5 separate regions of the Homo sapiens genome follow, and all the other regions are linked to region 1. The links are contacts of gene promoters, found by promoter capture Hi-C in human tissues and cell types (Jung and others, 2019). All regions are on one chromosome and are shown on one strand. Each heading gives the region's core, a stretch centred on a gene start or on the middle of the fragment in contact. The rest is flanking DNA. Distances are from core to core; before and after follow the strand shown.

Region 1 (2,969 bases), core at 339-2,838:
TACCATGCTCTTGACAACAGAACCTGTGGATGGTCCACTGACAATTTGATGTAGCAGATCAGTTGTTAAATTCAACGTCTCCTCCTACCCCTGACATCTCTCCTGTGTTTTCTGTTGGTAAATGAATGGCACCACCATCACTGCAGGTGCCAAAGGTGTCATCCTGGGATTGAGTCTTCTCTCGACTTTCACATCCAGTCACCAAGTCTTACTCCATTTCCTAAATTTCTCAAAACTACTCTTCCATGTGCTCTCCCTTACTCTGAAACATCATCACTCACTATTTCTAACAGGCATCCTTGCCTTGATTCTTAACCTACTCGGGCCTACTTCCATTGTTATTGCCACAGAGGGTTTTATAAAATAAAGTCAGCATGAACACCCCTCTGCAGTCTGCACATACACACCTTACCCTGGTCGAGTTCATAGCCTACTTGGTGTCTGACTCCCCCTTTCCTGCTGCTTCAACCTTGTCTCTGCCCACGTGCAACTTTGATCCCTGCCCCACTAAACTGGGTGCTGGCACAATGGTACCAAGCTTTTCTATGGCTCTGGCCTTCAGAATAGGACTTGCCTCCTTTACGTAGACAACTACTGCCTGTCCTTGAAGACTCAGATTCAACTCAGCTCTTTCAGAAAGCTTCATTTGAATGTCTTTTCTGCCTGGACCAGACTGTGCACCTCCAGGTCAACCTACTGCCACTCAATTACAAATTTCCCTTTTCATGCTTTCTACAATCTGGTGCAGAGTAAGCACTCAAAAAGTGTTCAGCTGATATATGGATTTTACCCAGAACTTTTGCTATGTACTTACTTTTTTTCTTTTTCTTTTTCTTTTTTTCTTTTTTTTTTTTTTTTTTGAGATGCAGTCTCGTTCTGTCGCCAGGCTGGAGTGCAGTGGCGCGATCTCGGCTCACTGCAACCTCCGCCTCCCGGGTTCCAGCGATTCTCCTGCCTCAGCCTCCCAAGTAGCTGGGACTACAGGCACGCACCACCACGCCCCGCTTATTTTTGTATTTTTAGTAGAGACGGGGTTTCACCATGTTGGCCAGGATGGTCTTGATCTCTTGGCCTCGTGATCCACCCGCCTTGGCCTCTCAAAGTGCTGGGATTACAGAAAAAAATGTCTAAATAGAGACAGGGGCGGGGGGGTCTCACTACTTTGAGCAGTTTGGTCTCGAACTCCAGACCTCAAGTGGTCTGCCTAGGCCTCCCAAAGTGCTGGGATTGCAGGTGTAAAACCACCGCGCCCGGCCAGAACTTCTGTGATGTAATTCTGATAACCACATGCTTCGCTTGAAGAAGGGGAGAGAGTAGGGATAATTTCATGTGTCCGGTCTGGGCAACCAACTTTAAGTTCTTTATGCTGGGATTTTGTTCAATTCTTGCCCTATACTTTAAAGAACTGGGGCAAGAGAATGCGAGTAGGAGGACGAGGAGTATGTTCTTCAGGCTGCTACTCTGCAAGGTGGTTTGGGACCACAGCCTGAGAAAGCCCTTCCAGCTCTGGAGTCATAAAAAGGGCGGGAGCCGTTTCTATAGCGACGGGAGGAGGGCGTGGCCGTCCCTTGCCCTCTGCCGGGCTCTCACAGCCTCCCGCAGCGGCGGGCGGTCAGCGCCGGCCTCATGCAGCTCCTCCCGCCGCCTATCCGCACCGGAACAAAGTAAGGGCCGCGGAGGCTCGTACTTCACGAGCAGTCAGGCGCGAGTACGAGGCAGGCGACGAAGCTTCTGGTCGACGGGGTCGTGGGGGGAGAATGAAAAGCGTGCAGAATGCAAGAGCTGACCGGGGAATGTGGGTCAGAGAGAGGCGGGCTGTGGTGCGCGGACAAGAAAATACAGTTGTAGTTTTTGCAGCAGCTGCATCCCCGGAATCCGACGTCAGTATACTTCCATGTTAAGATGCTGTCGCATCGGCGACTCCAGCTGAGTGCAGGACAGGGAGCGAGGGGTTCTGAGGAACTCAGCAGACCTATCCTGGAACTGTGCTTCCAGCCCTCACTGGGACGCCAGACTTTCTTCCTCCCTTTCTTTCTCTTCTTTACTGCATGTCCTCTTGGTAGTCGTAAGTGGGTCCACGACCACACGCCTCGCGTGGATGAGGCTCTGGCAGGCATTACTCATGTTCCCACCCAGCCCATATGCCCGGGCACCTCTGTGCTCAACCAGGGCCCAGCCCCTGACACAAAAGCGCGCGAAGGTGTGTGTAGATCACACACCCAGAGCTGCCACTCAGGAAATTCCCAATATTAGCAAATCTTTCCTTAAAAAAGAGATGAACAATGCACAATTTGAGGGTTTTTAAAGGCTATTCTGTGACATTTGCTGCATTTGAAATGTCCAGCAGCCCCTCAAAGCTTAGGAAAACCGTGACCCCTCTGACATGTCTTAAGCAACGGACAGCATCACCAATATTAATTCAAGCTTCACTGTCCAGGCTTAAGTGGAGACTCGGCAAAAGCAGGAGGCCATTTAGTGGAAAAGTTCAAACCGTGGAAACAACAAATGAAAATGTCCTTTGTCTTGCTTGAGCGATTTGATCACCTACATGTGGTCGGTATGTAAAACCTAGGAGTTCGAAGAAATTCTTCAAACATGCACTCTACCTTATTGTTTCTGTTACTTAAATCTGTTGTTTCTCTTGTTTGTTTTGGTCCTTATGGAGAAAGCAGAGGTAAATCGGAAGGGACTCTCTAGCAATATGCCAGCCACTCTTCCCTGACTTTGCCCTCTCCAACTCCACATATTGTTGCCTGCAACTTGGCTAGAATGCATAGTCCTCAAGCGTGTGGAGGACCCAGTGCTGGGATTTAGTGGTTTTAGCTGACTCTAAGCCCATCGTGAGTGTGTTGTGATGGCTCCCCAAAGAGCAAATGCTGGTGGAGGCTGCATTCATAGAAATGCAATGACCACATCAAAGAATATGGTCGTGCTGCCTGACTTAGCAATGAGTAGAACATAATCCAGAC
Region 2 (2,969 bases), core at 291-2,790, 250 kb before region 1:
TACGGCGCCTGCCAGTCGGCTTAGGGCTTACAGCTCTGCAGCCTAACCTGTGTCTGTTTTACCTCCCTGGCCAGGAAGGAGGGCCCAGTAAGTCCCAAGTGGAGTCATCCTCCTCCAACCCTCTCCACCACAAACAGACCTGGAATACTTCTTTCAGTTTGTGGACCATAACCTCTCCTTCTCAGACGAAGAAAGACCGTACTGCCTCAGTAAGCATTAAGATCTCTTTATGTCTTTATGAGTTTTTAGTTATCAGATTACCCCGGGGCTGGGCCAGATTTTTGAAATTCCTTTGAGATCCCAACATTCAGCCCCACGCCCAGGTCTGCAGGTAGGCCCAAATAAGGTGGGGTGGTAAAGATCTGCTTTTTGTTTTTTGGTTTTCTTTTCTTTTGTTTCTGGAGATAGGGTCTTCCTTTGTCTCTGAGGCTAGAGGGCAGTGGCGTGATCACAACTCACTGCAGCCTCAACTTCCCAGGCTCAAGTGATCCTCCCACCTCAGCCTCCCAAGTAGCTGGGACAACAGGCATGCACCACTACATCTAGATTGTTTTAAAAAATGTGTTATAGAAACAGTGTCTCACTATGTTGCCCTGGCTGCTCTCAAACTTTGGGCCTCAAAAGATCCTTCCCACCTCAGCCTCCCAAAGTGCTGGGTTACAGGTGTGAGCCACTGTGTCCAGACAGCTTTTCCTGCTTTTGTTTGTCTGGAGAGTCATTTTTAGTGCTCCTGGCACCATGGAGATTCCATGAGAAGACAAACCTGTGAGATTTCTATATTTGTTGAAAAAGTGCAAATCTCTGTGGCTATGTTTCGGTCAACCCATTCACTGAAAATCGCTACTCTTCATCATCCCCTTCCCACACAGGGCTCCTGGGCACTGCTCGTTTATTCAACAAATGAGGGCTGGGTACGTGCCTGGTGCTCCGTATGGGACCCCTCATTCAACAAATGTGTCTCAGTACTTGCTTTTCCAGGGATGAGATCTCTGCTCTCCTTGATCTCAAAGGCTAAAGACAGAGACAGATAAAAAGACAACTGCTACTTGGTGGTTGGCCCAGAATACAAGTGCTCTATGCTCTGCTCTGGAATGCCCCCCCGGCCACCCACTCGCTTTGTAACCTTGGGCTCATTACTTAGCCACCCAGCAACTCACAGTAAACTCAGTGACTTAGTTTTTTCATCTGTGAAATGGGGTTTTGTAGTTTTGAAAGAGCTTTCCACAAGCCTCTCCTATAATCCTTTTATAACTCTGGTGAATTTGGTACCTTGTTTTGTAGCTAAGTGAATGGAGGGTCACACGGCTCACTTGGCTTATCACAAAGAGTTAGGCTAGGACTGGATCCCAGATGTGTCTGAATTCAAATATCATGCATCTTCTGCTACACTGGGCTACTTTATTGATCCATATTTTGCTTACTGAGCATTGAGCTGAAAGAGTGAGACTTTTAGCCCAGTGTGGGCAGGAAGGTTGCAGGGGGTGGGGGGGGTTGGATGATGACATCACTTAGTGAAATCATCAGGGGATAGTTTTTTAATGAAGACAAAGTCAATGAAGAAAGTAAAGGGCCTTGTCATCTAAGGAGGAGTTTGTCAGTGAATGTACACCAAGGAAGTAGCCTTTTCTTTCCAGCGTCTTTGCCTTGCCCCTTGGCTGTTCTTCATGCTCATTCCATTCAGGTTATAAATGCGTTGCTCATAAACTCCTGGGAAGGAGCCATGGGTTCTGCTTTCCTCCCAAATCCCCAAACCTATGTCAATTAAAACAAGAATCACAGCCAGGCGCGGTGGCTCACACCTGTAATCCCAGCACTCTGGGAGGCCGAGGTGGGCGGATCATGAGGTCAGGAGAACAAGACCATCCTGGCTAACATGGTGAAACCCCATCTCTACTAAAAATACAAAAAATTAGCTGGGCGTGGTGGCATGTGCCTGTAGTCCCAGCTACTCGGGAGGCTGAAGCAGGAGAATCACCCGAACCCAGGAGGCGGAGGTTGCATTCAGCCGAGATTGCGCCACTGCCCTCCAGCCCGGGTGACACAGCAAGATTCCATCTAAAAAAAAAAAACAAAAACAAACAAACAAACAAACAAACAAAATCACATATCTAGTTTGTCCCTATTCTTCAGGGACCCACGAATATCTGTGTTATTATTATTTCTCCCCCAACGCTCCCTCCTTCCCCCACCAAGCCCAGAGAATCTCAGTCCAGAGGCAGGGAAGCCTTGCTTGTATCATCAGCCTCCCAAGCCTTTGCTATTTAAAGATTCCTTTTGTTATCCTATAGGAAGAGATATTCTTTTTCTTGGTTTTTCGTGGCCACCTTCCTTGCCCCGAAAAAAGGGACACAGGAGGAAGGGCCCAAAAACGTAGAGGAAAAATACTGTAGGAAAAAATGCTGATTAATATTTCCAAAAATATTATTTTACCATGGATGCAATGGCCTGAGGCCCTGCAAGGGTGAATGCCACACTGAGGGTCACCCAGCAATGTACAAATGAACAATGAAGGACAACTGCTGGCCTCTGCAGGCTTCCATTCATTGCTCAGCTCTGTGAGCCTCTGGACATCTTGGTGAATACCCTCAGAAAATCTTGAAGCACCACAGGTTTTAAAAGCAGTCACTCACTTATGTTTTTCATATGTCACTGTAAGCTCATCATGAAGGGACTATGGAAGATTTGCTTCCATATGGCACTGCCTAGGTATTAGGGCCAGGACACCTAGGATTTTAGGGCCTAGCGGTCTTCTCTTTTCCTTAGCATTCTGTCAGGGCTCTGGCAAGAACAAGAGGATTGGCCTTTCTAGCCAATGTCCCCCCCAGTGCTTGCTACTTGCCTGGAATATTATGGACTGTATCATACATTTCTGTATTACATACAATCATTGTGACAGAGTCAGGATGCTGTGGTGGAAAAAGGCTTAGGTAATAAGATGATCTGACTTTGAATCCCAGGGCTGCCACTTA
Region 3 (2,969 bases), core at 267-2,766, 230 kb before region 1:
ACCACGCCTGGCTAATTTTTGTATTTTTAGTAGACACAGGATTCTACCATGTTGGCCAGGATGGTCTCGGACTCCTGACCTCAGGTGATCTGCCCTCCTTGGCCTCCCAAAGTGCTGGGATTACAGGCATGAGCCACTGCATGTGGCCTAGGTAATCTTTTATTAATATTAACAACAATGATAATGGCAAATCAGTGCTGTTGGTTTTTTACCAAGGTATAAATAGTTCCATGTATTTTTTTTTTTTTTTGGAGACAGAGTCTTGCTCTGTTGCCCAGGCTGAAGTGCAGTGGCATGATCTTGGCTCACTGCAACCTCCACCTCCCAGGTTCAAGCGATTCTTCTGCCTCAGCCTCCCGAGTAGCTGGGACTACAGGCACTCACCACCATGCCTGGCTGATTTTTGTATTTTTATCAGAGACGGAGTTTCACCTTGTTGGCCAGGCTGGTCCCGAACTCCTGACCTCGTGATCTGCCCACCTCGGCCTCCCAAAGTGCTGGGATTACAGGCGTGAGCCACCGTGCCTGGCCAGTTCTGTGTAATTTTATTTCTTTATCATACGTTTATTTTTTAAGCTAATACATCTACATATTTAGAAATCAAAACAATTCTCCGTAGTCTTCCTATTCTTCCCCCAACCAATAGGTGGCCACATTTATTAGTTTCATGTTTATCCTTCCATTGTTTCTTTGTGCAGATCCAGATGTTTATTTCCCTCCTTTCTAAAAGGGTAGCTTTCTTTTTATATTACTCTATACCCTGCTTTTTCTACTTAATCATATATCTTGGTGAGCATTCCATATCTTTACATATAATCTCTCTCTTTAAAGGACACATTTACATAGGATTCCATTAGGTAGATATGTCACTGTTTATTTGTTAATATAAATAATGGTTATTCTGGCCATAGTTAAGGAATGAGTTATGGACATTTGGGTTGTTTATAATCTGTTGCTATTAGAAATAATACTGTAGCTAATGATCTTTTTTTTTTTTTTTTTTTTTTTTTTGTGAGACAGGGTCTTGCTCTCTCACCCATACTGGAGTGCAGTGGTGTGATTGCAGCTCACTGCAACCTCTGCCTCCCGGGTTTAAACAATTCTTGTGCCTCAGTCTCCCGAGTAGCTGGGATTACAGACGCCCGCCACCACGCATGGCTAAATTTTGTATTTTTAGTAGAGATGGGGTTTCATCATCTTGGCCATGCTGGGCTTGAACTCCTGACATCGTGATCTACCCACCTCGGACTCCCAATGTGCTGGAATTACGGGCATGAGCCACCACGTCTGGCCACAAATAATCTTTTAAATATGAGTGAATTCAGTTATTCCCAGTAATTGGGTTATTGGATAAAAGGGTAAACAGATTTGTCATTTTGATAGGTATTTCCAGATGACCCTCCCTAGGTAAAAGCACATTCACTGAAGTTCTGTCATTTCCCAGCATTTTCTCCAGGCCCTGGGCATGTTGAGGGTATGCAATCCCTGCTTGTGCCTTTAAGGAACTGGAGCCAGGATAGACACAGAGCTAAAAAGTCAATTAGCACACAGATGAAAACTTATGTTGGTAGTGCCAGGGGACCATGGGAGTATAGAGTGTGGGTATTAAATAGAGTAGGTAGATGGGGAATGGTACTGGGGAGGGAGACTACCTAAAAGAACCAGTCTTGTGTTGGGTCTTAAAGAACATTCATATTGGCCAAATCCAGCAATCTGTATCTTGGCAGAGGTTGGCATACAGCTGTTTTTGTAAACAAGCGGCAAGATTCCAGGATGAGGCCTGAGTTTGTGATTCTGACTTCCAGGTCTGGTAGATTTTTTTTTCTAGATCTGAGTAAATCAGTCCTATGTGACATTTTAATTATTATAAACTAGTGCTTCACTTAAAAACAATGGAGCGATCATTTTCCATCGAAATCAAGGAAATGCAAATTAAAATTAAAGTGAGATGAATTGTTCAGGTACCAGATTGGTACAAATTGAAGAAACCTTCCATCACTGAATCTTGTTGAGGGTGGTACACCACACTACAGGGTGGTGTAACCTGCTATGACACTGGCATTACCTAATAAAGCTGGTATTTGCATACCTTATGGCCCAGCAATTCTAGTGGTAGGTTGGGTCAGCAAACATTTAATTAGTGCTCAAAGAAATTTCAGCTGAATTCTCTTTGATTCTACTTTTCATGTATTTGAAAGTTGCATTATTGTTAACCTATCCTGCTGTCTGTCCAGTCTTGCCCATGCACTTCCCGCCCTTTTCCCCCTCCAGCCTCAGTAACCCCAGTTATTTTCTGACAAAGTTTCCAGTTCTTTTACCCTTCCGGTTGGTTCAGATTGCTTTGATTTGTTTTGGTATTTTAGTTTTTAAAAGTGTAGTACTCAAACCTCAGTTCAGTGTGCAGTTAGTTGGTCTGCGAGATAGCTGTCAGTACTACAAAAAATAACTGCTGAAGACCTAGGAACTAAGAGAAGGCAGGGGGTTCTGAAGGTTTGTGCACGTCTCTCCCATTCCATTCAGATTCTCTTTCACTTGCTCATTCAGTCCAGCAATGAATAGACTGACTCTCACGTTTTTGTTCCTGCTGCCAGTAAGAGTAGTTTTGATCAATATATTTCTTTTAACAAAATTATTTGGCTGAAATGTTATTTGCATTATATTTTTTAGTAGGATTTTCCACCTGCAATTCACTTAAGATTGGTTCCTGATCTACACGTTTTAGTTTGGAGTAGTTTGAAATTCTTAGCTCTTCATTAAAGAAGACAATTGCAAATATTAGTTTAGAATAAATTGTTTTTACAGGTTGGATTATGAAGTGTGTTACAAGTTTCACATGATATTTTTAGAGTATCACCACACTTGATTGCTCATTTTTTTCCTCCTCTCAAAAACAGTATAATTTGGCTAATAAGGTTGTCCTTCTCTTTCTATTTTAGTGGAGAAACAAGATTTAACAAGGAGAAAATAAT
Region 4 (2,969 bases), core at 210-2,709, 190 kb after region 1:
GTTTTGGTATGTTGTGTTTCCATTATCATTTGTTTTAAGAAATTTTCCAATTTCCTTCTTAATTTCTTCATTGACTCACTGGTCATTCAGGAGCATATTGTTTAATTTCCATGTGTCTGTATAGTTTCCCAAATTTCTCTTGTTATTGATTTCTAGTTTTATTCCACTGTGGTCAGAGAAGATGCATGCGATTATTTTTATTTTTTGAATGTTTTAAGACTTGTTTGTGACCTAACATATGGTCTGTCCTTGAGAATGATCCATGTGCTGAGGAGAAGTGTATTCCGCAGCCACTGGATGAAATGTCTGTAAATATCTATTAGATACACTTTGTCTATAGTACAGATTAAGTCTGATGTTTCTTTGTTGATTTTCTGTCTGGAAGATCTGTCCAGTGCTGAAAATAGGATGTTAAAGTCTTCTGCTATTACTGTATTGGGGCCTATCTCTCTATTTAGCTCTAATAATATTTGCTTTATATATCTGGATGCTCCAGTGTTGGGTGCATATATATTTAAAATTGTTATAGCCTCTGGCTAAATTGACCCCTTTTTTATTATATAGTGACCTTCTTTGTCTCTTCTTATAGTTTTTGTCTTGAAATCTATTTTGCCTGATATAAATATAGCTACTCGGCTTTGTTTTGGTTTCCATTGGTATGGAATATCTTTTTCCATCCCTTTATTTTTAGTTTATGCGTGTTTTTATAGGTGAAGTATGTTTCTTATAGGCAACAGATCAGTGGGTCTTGTTTTTTCATTCATTTGGCCACTCTATGTCTTGATTGGAGAGTTAAGTCCATTTACATTCAATGTTATTATTGATAAGAAAGGACTTACTTCTGCTATTTTGTTATCTGTTTTCTGATTGTTTTGTGGTCTTTTCTTTCTTGTTTCTTCTCTTTCCTGTCTTCCTCTAGTGAAGGTGATTTTCTCTGTTGATATGATTTAGTTTCTTGCTTTTTATTTTTTTGTGTATCTGTTGTATGTTTTTTGGTTTGGGGTTTTCATGAGGCTTGCAATACTATCTTATCATCCATTATTTTAAGATGATGATGGCTTAACACTATTTGCATAAACAGACAACCAAACAATTGAAAAAAAAAAAAACTAATAAAAACTCTACACCTTGACTTTGTCCCCCCACTTTTTAACTTTTTGTTGTTTCTATTTATATCTTACTGTACTATGTCTTGAAAAGGTTTTGTAGTTATTATTGTTGATCGATTCATTATTTAGACTTTCTATTTAGGATAAGAGTAGTTTATACACCACAGTTACAGTGTTATAATATTCTGTGGTTTTCTGTGTACTGACTATCACCAGTGAATTTTATCCCTATAGATGATTACTTAGGGCTCATTAACATCCTTTTCTTTCTGACTGAAGTACTCCCTTTAGCATTTCTTGTAGGATTGGTCTGGTGTTGATGAAGTCTTTCAGCTTTTGTTTTTGTGGGAAAGTCTTTATTTCTCCTTCATGTCTGAAGGATATTTTCACTGTATATGTTGTTCTAGGGTAAAAGTTTTTTCCTTCAACACTTTACATATGTCATGTCACTCTCTCCTGGCCTGTAAGGTTTCCATGGAAAAGTCTGCTGCCAGAAAGTATGGGAGCTGCATTGTACGTTGTCCTCTTGCTGCTTTTAGCATCCTTTCTTTATCCTTGATCTTTGGGAGTTTGATTATTAAATGCCTTGAGGTAGTTTTCTTTGGGTTAAATCTGCTTAGTGTTCTGTAACATTCTTGTACTTGGACATTGATATCTTTCTCTAGGTTTGGGAAGTTCTGTGTTGTTATCCCTTTGAATAAACTTTCTACCCCTATCTCTTTCTCTACCTCCTCTTTCAGGCCTGTAACTCTTACATTTTTCCTTTTGAGGCTATTTTCTAGATGCTGTAGGCGTGCTTCATTGCTTTGTATTCTTTTTTCTTTTGTCTCCTCTGACTATGTATTTTACAAATAGCCTGTCCTCAAGCTTACTGATTCTCCCTTCTGTTTGACCAATTCTGCTATTAAAAGATACTGGTGCATTCTTCAGTATGCCAGTTGCATTTATCAGCTCCAGAATTTCTGCTTGATTGTTTTTTATTATTTCCATCTCATTGTTAAATTTATCTGATAGAATTCTGAATTCCTTCTCTAATTATCTTGAATTTCTTTGAGTTTCCTCAAAACAGCTATTTTGAATTTTCCATCTGAAAGGTCCCTTGTCTCTGTTTCTCTAGGATTGGTCCCTTCATTCATTTGGTGAGATGATGTTTTCCTGAATTATCTTGATACTTGTAAATGTTCTTCTGTGTCTGAGCATTGAAGAGTTAGTCTACTTATTCTAAGTAAAGACTACTTATTGTAGTCTTTACTGTCTAGGCTTGTTTGTACCCATCCTTCTTGGGAAGGCTTTCCAGATATTCAAAAAGACATGGGTGTTATGGTCTAAGCTGTACCTGCTTTAGGGGGCACCCCAAGCCCAGTAATGCTGTGGTTCTTCCAGACTCATAGAAGTACCACCTTGATGGTCTTGGATAAGATCCGGGAGAATCCTGTGGATTACCAGGCAGAGACCCTTGTTCTCTTCCCTTACGTCTCCCAAACAAATGGAGTCTATCTCTCTTTCTGTTCTGAGCTACCTAAAGCTGGGGGTGGAGTGACACAAGCAACCCCGTGACCACCGCCACTGTGACTGCTCTGGGTCAGACCTGAAGGTAGCACAGAACTGGGTCTCACTCAAGGCCTGCTGTAACCACTCACTGTGTACTTCCTATGTTCCCTTGAGACCCTGGTGCTCTACAATCAGTAGGTGGCAAAGCCAGGACACAGGACACAGGCCTGTGTCCTTCCTTTCGGGGCCGTGTGTTCCTCCAGGTCCCAAGTGGGTCCAGAGGTGCTGTCTGGCAGTCAGACACTAAAGTAAAATACCTTAAAAGTCTACCTCATGTTTTATTATATTGTGACTGAGCTTGACTGAGCT
Region 5 (2,969 bases), core at 302-2,801, 180 kb before region 1:
ACCAGTGTGACCTTAGGAGCCCAAAGAGAAACACAGATAGATACCAGCTGTGAACAGGAAGCCCAGGGAGGAGGCCCTGGGTTTGTGCTGTTTGGACGTCACTGTCCTTGGTTCCCAGGTAGCTACCTGAATGCAGCAGATAGGCTGGTCCCATGGCAGGCAGGGAAACCTGTTGTCTCCAGCCTGGTTTGGAACCCACTTCTCTGGCATTAAGAGAATTTGCCCCGGGAGCTGTGTGGAAGCATCAAGTCTAGTCCCTGCATTTACGCTCATAGAATCAAGGCTCTTAGTATAGATAAGGGCCTATAAGAATCTGTATTCCGGCTGGGCGCAGTGGCTCATGCCTGTAATCCCAGCACTTTGGGAGGCTGAGGCGGGCAGATCACCTGAGGTCAGGAATTTGAGATCAGCCTGGGCAACATGGTGAAACCCTGTCTCTACAAAAATACAAAAATTAGCCGAGCATGAGTGCGTGCCTCTCGAGCGTGCTGCTCGAGAGGCTGAGGCAGGAGAATTGCTCGAACCTGGGAGGCAGAGGTTGCAGTGAGCTGAGATTGCACCACTGCACTCCATCCTGGGTGACAGAATAAGACCCTGTCAAAAAAAAAAAAAAAAGTATTCCTGCAAGTTCATTACTTTCCTTCATCTCCTGACTTCTTTTTATCAGCATCTGCTCTGAGAAGGTACTGAAGAAGATTCTCACCCAGATCATGTTCACTCAAAGTAAAGACTGGGCAATAATTTTCAAACAATAACATCAACTTCATTGTCCTTAGCTATGATGAAAAAATGTCAGAGGAATCAAGGTAAAAAAAAAAGCTGGGAGATAGGAGAGAAGGTGATCTCACGGTGGCTTGCAGCCTTCTTTTCTTTTTGAGATCCTGGAAGGACCTGGCAGGCCTCTGCTCCCTGTCCCTTCACTCCTCCTGAGTCTGTCTCCACCATTTCAGTAACGGTGTCCCTGCCCTCTTGCTTTCTCAGAGCATTACATGTCGTCCAGACCTCCAGCGTTCAGGGAGATGGATATCTAAGCCATCTAGAACAAAAATTTTTTTTTTTTGGCTTCTTGAAGTTCTCTGGAGAGGTGCCATTCCTGTATCTCATCTGAAAATGTCATCCCAGTGTCATCTTGACAGCAAAAATGTGCTTCCCTATAGCCAATCTGATTCTCTCTTGCTTTAATGCATCCAAGCAATCAACACATAACTTTTTATGGAAAGCCTGTTATATGGCTACTACCTTGTAGAAAATCTTTAGAGAAGTCTGAGAATGAAAAGGTACAGTCCTGATCTTCAGGGAATTTGCAATCTACTAGGCAGAATATTCTTTGTATTTGTCTAGCACTTCACAGCCCATAAAGTACACTCATATCTATTGTCTCTTCTGAGGCTCAAAACAGTCCTATGGGCAGGTCTGGGGGGTGTCGGGGACGACTTTCCCAAGAGCATCCTGGCTCCTGATACACACATTCTGTTATCGTAGGAATTTAAAGAAAAGAGAGAAAAAAAACATGACTTTAAAAAATCTGTTTTTATTAAAAAGTAGATCAATGCAGAAATGTATGAAGTAGAAAGTGAATATACAATATAGTTTGTAACCTCTAGAGGTAAAATGTTATCAAAGACAAATTATAGCTTTAGGGCATATATATAAAATATATATTATATTTAATATAATAAAATACATTAATATATTGCCAATAATACATGTTAATAAAATATATAATGTATTAATAAATATTTAATAAAATATGTATATATTTATATTTATGTATTTCTAAATAGGTACATATTTAACATTATATATTAATACTAAAGTGTATATTATATATAAGTATATATATTTAAATATGCACTTTTATTTTAAAATTTAAAAAAAATTTTGCATCTATCAGCCAGAAAAATACGCACTTTTAAAAGACAAAATTGAGGGCATACCGTATATAATATATACCCACTTTGTCCGCTGAAGTCTATTTTGACCACCTTTCCAGGTCAGTATGCATATCTTTACCTCATTCTTTTAAATTATTCCATTCCATTGTATTTGAAAGTGGTCAGCTCTTCTGAAAGCTTCATTTCCTTCCAAGCTCTGCCCCAGAGGCTTTTGTGGTGGTTCCCAAGGCCACAGGACTTTATGTTTACATGTATGTGTATATACACATACACACCCATTATATACATGTGCATACATACATATAAACAGATACATACACACATATACATATAATAATGGCCCTGCATGGGATGGCACTGGTGGCTGGGGTTACCGCAGTTCTCTGCCACATCAAGAACTTACCCCCTTTTAGTCTAGAACCAATACCTCCCATAGAATCAGTCTCCAGTTCCCTTCTTTCCCTCCAAATGACATGTTCAATTTCTCCTCCCCAAGACAAAATTTCCAGCTTATTTTTGTCATGGCAGCCTTTCCAAAATAAAGGCCCACGGGAGGGCTTGTCTTCAGGGCAGCCTTCTCCAATGGGCAAGGAAGCCTGGAATTCCAGCAGCGGGGGGACATCAAGGCTTGGAAAGGGGTTTGAATCCACAGAAGATGTAGCGGTGCTTCTCCACGGTTCAGCTGTGATAGTTTTCACTTCTGCCACTATGGCCAATAAATCTCCACACTTGCAGTGATCTCATAAAGACCACACTTGTTAATTTATAAATATGGCCACTGATAGCTGGTAATGACTGCTGATGACAAGGTGACAAGGATGGGCATAGAAGTGCTATTTACCGAAGCCTTTGGAAAATAAGCTACGATTTTCAAACGTGTAATATAAAATTTGCAACCTATTTTGAACTTAATACAGAGCATAAAGTTTTTATAAGAATAGGAAATGTTTGAGGGTATTTAAATATGCATATCTGAGTGTTTATTTATTTAGAAGTTTAAAGTCGTTCAAAAGTATAAAACAGCTATGCTGAGTATCAGAATTCTGAAGAACATTAGAAGAGAGAGGGTAACTG

Evidence for each region. Contacts are between HindIII fragments. The study calls those that stand out against the background at their distance.
Region 2: a fragment that was not itself captured here is called in contact with the fragment with the promoter of DYRK4 in region 1 in 1 of the 25 tissues and cell types used here (mesendoderm cells).
Region 3: a contact is called between a fragment that was not itself captured here and the fragment with the promoter of DYRK4 in region 1, in 1 of the 25 tissues and cell types used here (dorsolateral prefrontal cortex).
Region 4: a fragment that was not itself captured here is called in contact with the fragment with the promoter of DYRK4 in region 1 in 1 of the 25 tissues and cell types used here (H1 embryonic stem cells).
Region 5: a fragment that was not itself captured here is called in contact with the fragment with the promoter of DYRK4 in region 1 in 4 of the 25 tissues and cell types used here (H1 embryonic stem cells, mesendoderm cells, neural progenitor cells and 1 more).

The regions. Positions count from the first base shown.
Region 1 is chr12:4,560,620-4,563,588 of GRCh38, forward strand. DYRK4 (dual specificity tyrosine phosphorylation regulated kinase 4) reads left to right here and starts at 1,589. Exons shown (of 15, transcript NM_001394779.1): 1 at 1,589-1,664. The coding sequence starts at 1,627. RefSeq lists a silencer at 1,424-1,718. The HindIII fragment of the contact is 2,169 bases long and covers 1-2,042 here.
Region 2 is chr12:4,308,548-4,311,516 of GRCh38, forward strand. No RefSeq gene overlaps it. Among named protein-coding and RNA genes, the nearest start is that of TIGAR, 11 kb to the right of the region's middle. The HindIII fragment of the contact is 5,918 bases long and covers 1-2,969 here.
Region 3 is chr12:4,328,344-4,331,312 of GRCh38, forward strand. TIGAR (TP53 induced glycolysis regulatory phosphatase) reads left to right here. Exons shown (of 6, transcript NM_020375.3): 2 at 2,937-2,969. Among named protein-coding and RNA genes, the nearest start is that of TIGAR, 8.6 kb to the left of the region's middle. The HindIII fragment of the contact is 8,404 bases long and covers 1-2,969 here.
Region 4 is chr12:4,751,439-4,754,407 of GRCh38, forward strand. The region is part of intron 6 of GALNT8 (polypeptide N-acetylgalactosaminyltransferase 8); the gene reads left to right. Among named protein-coding and RNA genes, the nearest start is that of GALNT8, 33 kb to the left of the region's middle. The HindIII fragment of the contact is 4,171 bases long and covers 1-2,969 here.
Region 5 is chr12:4,383,507-4,386,475 of GRCh38, forward strand. No RefSeq gene overlaps it. Among named protein-coding and RNA genes, the nearest start is that of FGF23, 5.3 kb to the left of the region's middle. The HindIII fragment of the contact is 5,845 bases long and covers 1-2,969 here.